Regions from separate parts of the Homo sapiens genome. Here region 1 is linked to region 2. Evidence: promoter capture Hi-C in human tissues and cell types (Jung and others, 2019). All regions are on one chromosome and are shown on one strand. The core of a region is centred on a gene start or on the middle of the fragment in contact, and the rest is flanking DNA. Distances in the headings are between cores, read along the strand shown. Region 1 overlaps CALCOCO2 (calcium binding and coiled-coil domain 2). Region 2 holds the start of TTLL6 (tubulin tyrosine ligase like 6).

Region 1 (6,348 bases), core at 1-2,500, 34 kb before region 2:
TAAACTGAGAAAGAGGTGGTCATTTTCCTTTTTCAGCTGCTCTAACTGCTCTGTCTTATCTTGATCTCCCTGAACAAGCTTCTCCATTTCTTTCTCTTGAGTTGACAGCTGGGCCTAAAACAAAAATAGTGAACATAACCAAGATATAAAAGAAGGAAAACAAAACAGGAACAATGCTTTTTAACGTACAATAACAAAGAGATGTGTTTCCCTAGCAACTCCCAACTGCCAACTGAGTAAAATTAGACAAATCACTCTTTAAAGCACCTCTTTAAGGCATAGCTTCCTAAAAATGAGAGCAGTTCTGCTATCTGCTCTATATTCCAGACTTTTGAGTACGATTTTGCTTGAAAAGATTAAAGTTTGATTATTGATATAGATGATTGTCATCTATATTAAGAGCTCATGGTAAACTACCTTAGTAATACATGAACAAATCACTAAGTTCCTTGTGAATCATGATTTTTTTTTTTTTTTCTCTTGAGACAGAGTCTTGCTCTGTCACCCAGGCTGGAGTGCAGTGGTGCAATCTCTATTCACTGCAACCTTTGCCTCCGGGGCTCAAGTGATTCTTCTGCCTCAGCCTCCCGAGTAGCTGGAATTACACGTGCGCCTGTAAATTAGCACGCCCAGCTAATTTTTGTATTTTTAGTAGAGACGGGGTTTTGCCATATTGGCCAGGCTGATCTCGAACTCCTGACCTCAGGTGATCCACCTGCCTTGGCCTCCCAAAGTGCTGGGATTACAGACATGAGCCACTGCGCCCGGCTGTGAATCATGATTTTTTTTTTTTTAAAAGCAGGGGCATGGGTAGGGTGGAGGCTTACCTGGTCCAAGAATGGAAAATACATAACCTGAAACTTTAGTGTGATACTTTGAAAAGTATGCCATTAGGCACTCACTGCAATGAAATACATCTTTCTAGGCCACCAAATTGGAGCAGTGGTAAGGCTAAGAAAATATCCTTTGACAAACATATGGCATTACCTACCTGAAGCTGATCCACTCTGATTCCCATCTTCTCATTTTCTGAGGACATCTTCTGGTTTTGTTCTTTCAGTCTGTAGAGGTGGAGATAACTATGTGAAAAATTCACTGATTCCAGGTCAGCTACCCCTGGCCTTAAGTGATTTAAGGCTGGCTTGGCCCTAAGCCTGCAGAATTATTTAAAAATCTACTAGTCTCCATTGCAGTCCTGTTTTGGCTTCCTGACTCCAAAAAACTGCAAGTATTCAATCCCTAAAGTTAATATTTGAAATCAGATCATTTTTCCTGACTATTCTGATACCAATTTTCTAATTCATGATTCAAAGGGTGGAGAATCACATCATCAATGTCATAACAGTGTTTTCTCACAAATTCCAGAAATCTAATCTGACTGTACTTAAGGGTACTGATGGTACAGCAGCTCTTCCCCTCCCAGAATTATGGGATGCACTCACTGAAGCAGCTCTGTCTCCCAATAGTCCTTCTGTTCTTTCACTTTCAGTTCCAACTTCTTATTGATGCTCTGTAGGGTTTCTAGCTCCTCCTATAGATTGAAACAACATCAAAGGGACAGACTAGTTCTATGACTTTTGAATGAGTATCTTAGGCAGGCAACAAATATTTATTGAGCACTTACTATATGTCAGGCATAGCATGACACAGCAGTAAATGAAATACTCAAATAAAAGGAAAATGTTCTTTTTTTTTTTTTTTTAAGACAGTGTCTCACTCTATTGCCCAGGCTGGAGTGCAGTGGCGCAGTCTTGGCTCACTGCAACCTCTGTCGCCCGGGTTCACGCAATTGTTGTGCCTCAGCCTCCCAAAGTGCTGGGATTACAGGCATGAGCCACTGCGCCTGGTCACAAAATGCTCTTTTTATATTAAAAATGCATCACCTTAATTTCTCATTCCACTGGAGCTTATAATTTGTTCATTAAACAAATATTTACTGAGAGCCTATTCCACACTAGACACTGTTCTTGCATTGCAGACACAACAGTGGACAAAATAGACAGAACTGCCCTTTTCCTAGAACAGCGCTGTTCAATAAGTGAGAGCTACATATAATTTTAAAATCTTAGGAGGCACATTTTTAAAAAGGTAAAAAGAAACAGACTAATTTTAATAATACTATGTGTATGCATATATATATATTTTTTGTTTTTAATTTTTTTTGAGATAAAGTCTTGCTCTGTTGCTCAGGCTGGAGTGCAGTGGCGTGATCTTGGCTCACTGCAATCTCTGCCTCCCGGGTTCAAGCAATTATCTTGCCTCAGCCTCCTGAGTAGCCGGGATTACAGGCGCATGCCACCATGCCTGGCTAATTTTTTTTTGAGACAGAGTCTTGCTCTGTTGCCCAGGCTAGAGTGCAGGGGTGTGATCTTGGCTCACTGCAACCTCTGCCTCCCAGGTTCAAGCAATTCTCCTGCCTCAGCCTCCTGAGTAGCTTGGATTACAGGTGCCTACCACCATGCTTGGCTAATTTTTGTATTTTTAGTAGAGACGGGGTTTCACCATCTTGGCCAGGCTGGTCTCAAACTCCTGACCTTGTGATCCACCTGCCTCGGCCTCCCAAAGTGCTGAGATTACAGGCATGAGCCACCACGCCCGGTCTCCTGGCTAATTTTTGTATTTTTAGTAGAGACGGGGTTTTGTCATATTGGCCAGGCTGGTCTCGAACTCCTGACCTCAAGTGATCCACCCATCTTGGCCTCCCAAAGTGCTGGTATTACAGGTGTGAGCCACTGCACCTGGCCAAATGATAGTATATTTAACCGAATGTACCTAAAATATCATTTCAACATATGAACAATTAAAAGGAGATATTCAGACAGGGACGGTGGCTCATGCCTATAATCCCAGCACTTTGGGAAGCTCAGGCGAGTGGATCACCTGAGGCCAGGAGTGCGAGACCAGCCTGGCCAACATGGTAAAACCCTGTCTCTAAAAAATATAAAAATTGGCTGGGTGTGGTGGTGATCACCTGTAATCCCAGCTACTCGGGAGGCTGAGGCAGGAGAATCGCTTGAACCTGGGAGATGGGGGTTGCAGTGAGCCAGGATCGCACCCTTGCACTCCAGCCTGGGTGACACAGTGAGACTCCATTTCAAACAAACAAACAAAACTAATGCCTGTTCAAAGATACTGGTATAAGAAGGTGAGATCACAGGCAAAACAGAATATGGTGCTGGATAAGAGGCACCATCCAATTCTGATCTCCATGCTCCAAGGTCACCTATAACCAGCAGCCATACCTGCTTCTTTTGGAGCTCAGCCTGCATGTCTGAGTTCTGCTTCTGGAGGCTGATACAGCTGTCCTTCAGCTCCTGGTTTTCTTTGCAAAGCTCCTTGTTGTGCTGCTCAATCTCTTCCACCTCTCCCTACAAAAGAACATTCCATAAACTATATTCCAAGTCCCTCTAGCAGAAAATTCCCATAGGTTAGGATGGTGAGGGACTGGCTGATTCCCATTCACTGCAGTGACACCTATGTATCCCAGATGGGGGCTGCTCCTTAATACCTAGGTAAGGGTATAACAGAGGTATGTCTTTATAATTGCAGCAATACCAAGAAAGGCAAGCAAAAATTATATCCATTAAAATTAAAAGGAACAATGATATAAGAATGTAGCTTCTTCTTGCAGACGCTTAGTATTGTTTGTCTCTCCCAATGGACTTAGCTCCTTGAGGCCAAGGACAGTGTTTTAACTGATTCTTCATTGTGTTCCCAGTGCCTACCATAGTGCTGGATGAAAAGTAGGTGTCCTGTTAAATGATGAAGTAAGAAAATGAATCTAATACTCACGTATGACAGACAGGCTGTAGGCCAGAACTGAAAGAGATAAGAATATTTGGTGCTTCTCTCCTCAAAGGAGCTTTTACATTTACCATTGTGATAAGATGTGTAGATGACAAAAATTAAGCAATTGGAAAGTTAAAAGAATAACTGAATGCCAGCTGAGTTAAAGAAGTTTTAGAAAAGAAGAAACCACTTATTGTTATGAGTCTTGTTAACATTCCGAAGTCATTCCTGAGTGAGTCTGTGTGAGTACTACATACATTTTTTCCAATGATACCCGTTAGATATTCAATAAAGCCTTATTAACTCAAATTCCATCCTATCCTATATTGCTACCCGTAATGGCAGTAAGGGATTGAGGTGAGAAGTTTTACAAACCTGAGTGGTAACAACCAGGATGTCTTCCTCATTTTCTGGACGGAATTGGAAAGGAATACTTGCTCCCCGGACCACACCATCCTCATCCACATAGCAGAACTGGTAATACTCATCATCCTTGGGCAGGTAGTAAGCTGAAAACACAACATAATTTTTCATCCAAAATAAGATCTATTCAGAAAAGTAAAATTCTGGAAATCTTTTTATCTGCCCCAGAAAGCTCAAGCTGAAGGGAATTAATTAGTCTTGGCTACTGTCTTCAACACCTTTGATCCAGTATTTTTCTCACCTTTGAATTGGACTTCCTGCTGTTTAGCTGATTTGTTGTTTAGGTCAATGGGCAAAGTAACCCACATGAAGGTGTAATACTCACGGGTTGTCTTCCACCCCACCTGCAATGACAAGAAGTTCTTATTTAGTACCTGAAAGGGGACTGGGGAAAATCCTAATTGGGCTACATCTTCTTAAAATCACTTTTTATTTGTATATATTGAAAATATAGGCCGGGTGCAGTGGCTCATGCCTGTAATCCTAGCACTTTGGGAGGCCAAGGTGGGTGGATTGCCTGAGCTCAGTAGTTTGAGACCAGCCTGGGCAACATGGTGAAAACCCGTCTCCATTAAAATACAAAAAATAAGTTGGCACGGTGGTGTGCGCCTGTAATCCCAGCTACTCAGGAGGTTGAGGCAGGAGAATTGCTTGAACCCAGGAGGCGGAGGTTGCAGTGAGCCGAGATTGCACCACTGCACTCCAGCCTGGGTGACAGAGTGAGACTCCGTCTCCAAAAAAAGAAAAAAGAAAATATAATAGAATGAGTTCATTATGACAAGATTCTCACGCCAGGGCTCAAACCTTTTTTAATTTTTTATTTTATTTTTCACTTATGACAAATACATATGGGAAAATGTCTGATACAACCAAAAATTGGGGTGCACATACACAGCTCAAAATACAAGTCTTAGAAGGATTTGAAAACTAGCTCCTCACCACCCAGGAAAAAAGCTCCAAAAATTCTATCTACAAGTCAGAGATAGAGCTGAGACTGATTTAAGGGGAAAGTTGCGGGAATATGAACCCTGATCCTCTTACAATGGCATTCTTTGGACTTCTAAATCAGAAATCACTTCTGACCTGCCCTCTCTATTGGTGTGTCCTCTATTGTGTCCAATTAAGCCTTGTCATATACCAACCTGGATATACTACTGCATTAAAAAAAAACCCATTATTTTTCATAATGTCTGTGTTGGGGGCAGAGGGAGAACAGGGTTCTTAGATTATGAGGCACCAGATAAGAGATTCCAGGTCTATATAATTTTTTTTCTTCATGCATGCTTAATGATGGCTTTTTGGTAATAAAGATATTAACAACAATCTGGTAGTCGTAAAGGCCTCTTCTAGGTATTGAATACAATAAATCATAAGACATAAGGATGCAGCAAAACACGCCTCAGAGCAGAAAGCTGGCTAAGTGGAAAATATTCTCACAAATGTGAAGGGGGTAAAAGATTGCTCAAATCTTATCTAGAAAATAAAAGCACACCAGAGAATAGAAAGGAAGCTATTGTGTCTTCAAGGGGACAACACTCAGCAAATGAGAAGCAAAATTACATTTATTGCCATATTTTGACCCTGTCTGAGCTCAGTAAGAAGAGAACTAAAAATAAATTCCATTTTTATATATTAAGGAATCAAAGCAGGGTTGAAAAGTCTATACCAAAAACTCATCAGAACATCCTAGGGCATGTTTTAGAGTCTCATTAATACACACCCCATTGCTGTAAGCATCTCAGAGCCACTGCAGCCTGCGGTGGTACAGGAAGCAGGAATTTTATGGAGTCCTCATTCACATCCTGGAGTTTCTTAATGCACTGTGACCAAAATATCATTGGGAAGGCCTAAGAATTATTGCTGCCTTGGAACAGGGAAACAACTTCTAGCCACCTGCAATTTCTGTCCTTGGCTCCTCCATTTGAGTAGTTCTTGTTCCAATTTGTCTTGGAAACATTTAAATGCCTAAGTCAAGGAGAGTATGAAGCATAGGATTATACACTGAGGGAAGGAAAGCAGACTGCTTCCTGCTTTAGGCTCCATCATTGGTGGTGGCTTTCACTATAGAGAAGATGTAACATATTTGTATGTATTAAAAATATTTACTGACTGGGCACAGTGGTGCATGCCTATAAT
Region 2 (6,363 bases), core at 3,831-6,330:
AGGGTCACTTAAACCCATGAGTTAGAGACTACCCTGGGCATCATAGTAAGACTTCATCTCAAAAACAAAAACAAAAACAAAAACAAAACAAAACAAACAAACCAAAAAACAACCCAAAACTTCTGGTTCACCAGGTCTGACAAAAAAAGAAAAAAGTTATCTGCAGATTTTCAACTGCCTAGGGGGTTGATGCTCCTAACCCCTGCATGGTTCAAGGGTCAGCTGTAAAATCCTTAACATGTGTTCGTTTTTATATCTATATGAGAGTCCTGGTTTTATCTTTATTAAGAAAATTCTCTCTTTTTTTCCAGTTTTTTTAATATGTAAATACATGTTTGACATAGTCATAGCCTTTATATTTTTTTCACTCACTACTTTTATTAAGTAAAAAACTTCCTTGGTGCAATGAAACTTCATATATGTTAGTTTCTTTTTTGCTGTAATATAATTGATTCTACCATAATTTACTTAACCATTTTCTAACAATTGAATATTTAAGCTGTTTATTAAAAAAAAATTTTTTTTTTTGAGATGGAGTTTCATTCTTGCCCAGGCTGGAGTGCAATGGCACCATCTTGGCTCACTGCAACCTCTGCCTCTTGGATTCAGGTGATTCTCTTGCCTCAGCCTCCCGAGTAGCTGGGATTACAAGTGCCCACCATCACACCTGGCTGATTTTTGTATATTTAGTAGAGATGAGTTTCACAATGTTGGCCAGGCTGGTCTTGAATTCCTGACCTCAAGTGATCCGCCTGCCTTTGCTTCCCAAAGTGCTGCGCTTTATAGGTGTGAGCCACCGCACCGGGCCCAATTTTATTTTTTTGATCCATGGTCCCATTCTGTCGCCCAGGCTGGAGTGCAGTGGCATGATCTTGGCTCACTGCAGCCTCCACCTCCCAGACTCAAGCAATCCTCCTCCCTTAGCCTCCAAGTAGCTGGGGCTCCAGGTGTGCACCACTACACCCAGCTGAGTTTTGTATTTTTAGTAGAGACGGGGTTTCTCCATATTGCCCAAGCTGGTCTTGAACTCCTGGACTCAAGCAATCTGCTCTCCTTGACCTCCCAAGTGCTGGGATTACAGGCATGAGCCACGGTGCCCAAATAATTTTTTTTTTTTGAGACGGAGTCTCACTCTGTCATCCAGCCTGGAGTGCAGTGGCAAGATCTTGGCTCACTGCCAACCTCTGCCTCCTGGGTTCAGGTGATTCTCCTGCCTCAGCTTCCTGAGTACCTGGGATTAACAGGTGCCTGCCACCATGCCAGGCTAATTTTTGTTTTTTTAGTAGAGACGAGGTTTCACCATGTTGGCCAAGCTGGTCTCAAACTCCTGACCTCAAGTAATCCGCCCCCCTCGGCCTCCCAAAGTGCTGGGATTACAGGCATGAGCCCCTGCGCCCAGCTAATCAGGGCACTGTCTATGGAACTTGTCTGAGGGCCATCTACACCAAGACAAGGATGCTTTAAAAACAGCCATGTTGTTTCCTTACAGGGCAAAAAGAAAAAAAAAACCCAACATCTATGAACAGGGAAGTTTGTTTTCCCAGAAAGTGGAGGAGGATGAAGAAGAAAGGCAAAATAAAAACAGAAACCTGCCTGTAATCCCAGCACTTTGGCATGCAGAGGCGGGCAGATCACCTGAAGTCAGCAGTTCGAGACCAGCCTGGCCTACGTGGCGAAACCCCCATCTTTACTAAAAATAAAAAAAAATTATCTGAGTGCAGTGGCTCACGCCTATAATTCTAGCACTTTGGGAGGCTGAGGTGGGTGGATCACCTGAGGTCAAGAGTTCAAAACCAGCCTGGCCAACATGGCGAAACCCCGTCTCTACTAAAAATACAAAAATTAGCCAGGCGTGATGGCAGGTGCCTGTAGTCCCAGCTACTCAGGAGGCTGAGGAGGCTGAGGCAGGAGAATCGTTTGAACCCGGGAGGCGGAGGTTGCAGTGAGCCGAGATTGTGCCACTGCACTCTAGCCTGGGTGACAGGGCGAGACTCCATCTCGAAAAAACAAAAACAAAAACAAAAAAACCCAGAAACCTGGGAGCTCCACTGCTCATGGGTGGGCAGTCCCCTGTCCAGGGGCTCTTTCAGCCCCATCAGATACAGTTACACATCAAAATGGAGAGGATTCAGAAGAGGTGCTTGGCAGCAGTTTCTATTGCTATTTCTATTTCACTAATATCAGAGCATGTGGAGGAAGGGGTAATGGACTCTATGACCCCACTGCAAGCCTTGAGCAAAGCCATCCCACTTTCCTGGGCCTCAGTTTCCTCATCTGAAAACAGGACAAATGCCATGGAGGTCTCTAAGAACTCTTCTGATTTAAAAGAAGCCCAATTCTGTGATTATATACACTTCTACAACATTCTCTCATGCATTGCAGACTTAAAGCAAAAAAAATCTGGGGTATGCAAAATTTTATCTAAGCATCCTTGCCTCATTCCCACTCCTTACATCATTCCTGGTACACATATCAAGACTTTATTTTGGCTGGGCACGGTGGCTAACACCTGTGATCCCAACATTTTGAGAGGCAACAAAACAAGATCCCGTCTCTACAAAATTGTTTTTTTAAAAAATTAGTCAGGCATGGTGGTAGGAGCCTGTAATCCTAGCTACTCAGGAGCGTTGCTTGAGCCCAGGAGTTTGAGGCTTCAATGAGTCATGACCGTGCCACTGTACTCCAGCCTGGACGACAGAGCAAGACTCCATCTCGAAAAAAACAAAATAAAATTATTTTGGCCGGGTGCAGTGGATCACGCCTGTAATCCCACCACTTTGGGATGCCGAGGTGGGCGGATCACGTGGTCAGGAGTTTGAGACCAGCCTGGCCAACATGGTGAAACCCGTCTCTACTAAAAATACAAAAATTAGCCGGGCATGGTGGCGGGTGTCTGTAATTCCAGCTACTTGGGAGGCTGAGGCAGGAGAATTGCTTGAACCCAGGAGGCAGAGATTGCAGTGAGCTGAGATCGCGCCACTGCACTCCAGCCTGGGCGACAGAGCAAGACTCCGTCTGAAAAAAAAAATATATTTTGACTGGCACAGGAAGAAAGGGCTTCTAGGAGGGACCTTGGTTCAGGGAGCAGAAGCAGGATCTCTGTTTGTTTCATTAACTACTTAAAGGAAGAACTCCAAACTGAGAAAAAACGCTGTGTGTGAAGTGCAGAGCAAACAACCTTACGGGGATTTTACTGTTGTTTTACTATTTATCTATTTAGTCAGGTGGGTGCCTTAGGAACAAAACAGCAGTGAAAACAACAGGGTTGGACCTGGATTTTTCCACACACTCTTGCCTCTGACAGCTTCTAGGACATGGTCCAAATTTTTTGACAATTAGGACCCTCCATCATTCTGCTTCAGTTTTTCATGCCCAGGCCGAGTAAGTCCCTCAGTGTTTACCTTGTGGATTTGTCTGTTTAGGGTTTGCCAGGCACAAATCACTGATATTCTCTGCTTTCCTGGCTGTCACTCGGGTTGAAGCTTGCTTTGCTCTACAGTGAGGGCAGCTCCACTGTTCACCGTGTTCACCCTGTGTTTGCTCCTGACATCAGCCCTGAAAGGACAGTAGTGCCAGGCTCTGGCCTATAAGCTCCCGTTGCAACATCTCATAAATAACCAGTTGTCAGGGATTTTAGTGGAAACTCTCTGAAAGCCGTAAATCTTTGCTGCTCTCTCCTGTATCCTCTCCCTCATTTCCATCACAATATCACTCCTGAGGGACCGGAGACCAAACAGGAGCTAGGCAGAGCAGATTGGTAGGACGCTGGGGAAAGACAACAGTGGGATGGGGGAGGGGACCAGGCTGGGACAGTTGGTCTTAGGGAAGCATCTGCTGGGTGACCAGTTAATGATGGTCACTTGGCCCCTTAGGGCCTGTCGGGGAGGGGCACCACAGCACGGGGCCACCTGCGGGGGGAAAAGGGAAGAGTGCTGACTGGATGGCAGAGAGGTTTCTGAAAGAGCAGCAGATGGGCCACTGGTTCCACTTTGGGCCTTCTGTTCACTCCGGGGTGACTGTAAGCACCACGTAGTAGGCTTCCAGGGTCGGCTTGAGGCTAAGCTACACCCTTGCCTCTGGTGTTCTGCCTGTGCACATCAGCAGGTGAAGGGGATCTGGGTTGGGAGGAACTTAGGTTACCAACTCAGGCCCAAATGAACAATGTTTATTTATTTATTTGAGACAGAGTTTCCCTCTGTTGCCCAGGCTGGAGTGCAGTGGCGCGATCTCAGCTTAATGCAACCTCTGCCTCCTGTGTTCAAGCGATCCTCCCGCCTCAGCCTCCCGATAGCTGGGACCACAGGTACGCGCACCGCGCTCGGTTAATTTTTGTATTTTTAGTAGAGAGGAGGTTTCGCCATGTTGTCCAGCTGGTGTTGAACTTCTGAGCTCAAGCGATCCACCCACCTAGGCCTCCCAAAGTGCTGGGATTACAGGCGTGAGCCACCGCGCCCGACCATCTTCAATGATTTGAATCCAGTCACTACTACAGATTCTCCACCTGAGACCAAATGGTTGCTCTGAGAAGCCCAGACCCCTAACCCCTTAAGTCTCACTGACTCTTCAGTCGGTCTAGGCGGCCCTCTCTTACTGATCAGTTCACTGGAGGCCATGACCCCCACACTCTGGAGGTGAGGTCAGGGTTCAATACGCCTGAGCGGTCATCACAGGTTTGCAACACCCATTTTCCTGTTGAAGAAGCTAAGCCTCACAGAGGTAACGTGGCCTGCCCAAGGTGACACAGGCACTAATATGCCTGAGATGCTGATTTAAGTCTCCAACCAGTGTTTTCCCACAGTGCCTCCTGCTTCAGGTTTGCCCTCTCCCGAAGGCCTAAATTCAAGGTGCCCCCCTCCCTCACCGCAGCCCCGCGCAGCTGGACCTCTGGAGCCAGACGTTCTGGCCGCGCCCGCGCACGGCGCCCGACGGCACCGGCGCGGATGGGCTGGGACTGCGGCTTGGCTCGCTGGGCAAGGGTAGGGCTGCGGGAGCGAGCGGCGGTCCAGCCCCTGGCGCCCGGGTGCGCGGTGCGCGCGTCCTCCGCGTCTCCCGGGACAACCGTGGGCGCGCCCCTCCCCTAGCGCCTGGGCGGTTAATTGGATTCGGGAGGGAGGGGGCATGGCAGCTACTGCAGGGGCCAATCGAAGGCCTAGAAGGCCCCGTATGCAAATATGAGGGCCGGGCGGACCCAAAGTTAGGGCGAGCGCGGGTTGGGGTTGGGGCTGTCTGGCAGCCAATGGGAGCGTTACTCCTTCATCCTTCGAGGAGGGGGCCGGCAGGTGTGGTTGCAAGCTGGACTAGCAGCCCAGCGGGGCGAGACGGGGGAGTAGGAATTGCGGGTAAGAGCGCCCCAAAGCCCGGTGCTGGCTCCAGACCGCAGCCTCCTGGTGCCTGTCCCCTGAAAACCTGGCTAGACACGTCTCCTTAAACCCACACGGGACCCAGGTCCCCAGGGTAGCCCGCTGCCCTCCCTGGTGGCGTTCCATGGCGCCAGGCACTCACCCTCACGGTCCCTCGGCTCCGGGACTCCCCCCTTCTCAGTCCCTCTTATTAACGTTCATTTCCCGCCCTCCCCCGATTTCCTAAACCACAGTCCACCAAGGAGCTGTCGCTTAGACACCAGCGATCCCTGGGACTCACACAACTCTCTTCATCCCCTTCATCCCCATCATTGGGTCATTTTCTTCATCACTGTTCTTCCTTTGTCTGGAGAAACCTTCCAGCAAGACACTTCCCATTTTTCATGGCCGGCATAGTCCTCTGCTGATGCCCCTACCGCCTTCCAGCCTGGTGTTCTTTCATTTCCAGTTGTTATTTCTCACCCCTCCTGAAAAAATACTCTTCTGGCTTTGCAGAAAGTTCTCCTTTGGGATTTGAACTCTAGGAAAAATATCACATTGGGGGATGAAGTGGGAAGGGAGCTAACGTTTTGAAAGCACCAGTATGTGCGAGGCACTCCAAAAAAATTTAATATTTATGCCAATCTTATTATTATATTTTCTTTTTTGTTTGTTTTAAGAGATGGAGGTGGGGGTGGGGGGGCTCACTTTTTTGCCCAGGCTGGTCTCGAACTCCTGAGCTCAAGTGATCCTCCCACTTGGGCTTCCCAAAGTGCTGGAATTACAGGCATGAGTCACCACGCCTGGTTTATATTTTCATTTTACAATATAGCCTTTATTTTGAACCAAGCACTGCTTTAAGGGTATTAGAAATATTAACTCATTTAATCTTTAAAACAGCTCCATAAAATGAATATTATTATCATCCCCATTTTACTTATACAGAAGCTGAGGTACAGAGAGGCTAAGTTACTCACCCATGGTCACACATTCTAGAAACTAGTAGAGCTGGGATTTGGATCCA

The links. The method cuts DNA at HindIII sites, captures the fragments that hold promoters and counts their contacts. A contact is called where the count stands out against the background at its distance.
Region 1: a contact is called between a fragment that was not itself captured here and the fragment with the promoter of TTLL6 in region 2, in 1 of the 25 tissues and cell types used here (mesendoderm cells).

The regions. Positions count from the first base shown.
Region 1 is chr17:48,846,272-48,852,619 of GRCh38, reverse strand. It overlaps CALCOCO2 (calcium binding and coiled-coil domain 2), which reads right to left. Exons shown (of 13, transcript NM_005831.5): 3 at 4,454-4,556; 4 at 4,165-4,298; 5 at 3,243-3,368; 6 at 1,443-1,531; 7 at 992-1,061; 8 at 1-114. Among named protein-coding and RNA genes, the nearest start is that of CALCOCO2, 18 kb to the right of the region's middle. The HindIII fragment of the contact is 6,665 bases long and covers 1-4,582 here.
Region 2 is chr17:48,815,946-48,822,308 of GRCh38, reverse strand. TTLL6 (tubulin tyrosine ligase like 6) reads left to right here and starts at 5,080. Exons shown (of 16, transcript NM_001130918.3): 1 at 5,080-5,339. The coding sequence starts at 5,237. It overlaps LOC105371813 (a long non-coding RNA gene), which reads right to left. Exons shown (of 4, transcript XR_001752926.1): 3 at 6,317-6,363; 4 at 5,351-5,880. RefSeq lists silencers at 4,885-5,234, 5,325-5,374. The HindIII fragment of the contact is 9,954 bases long and covers 1-6,363 here.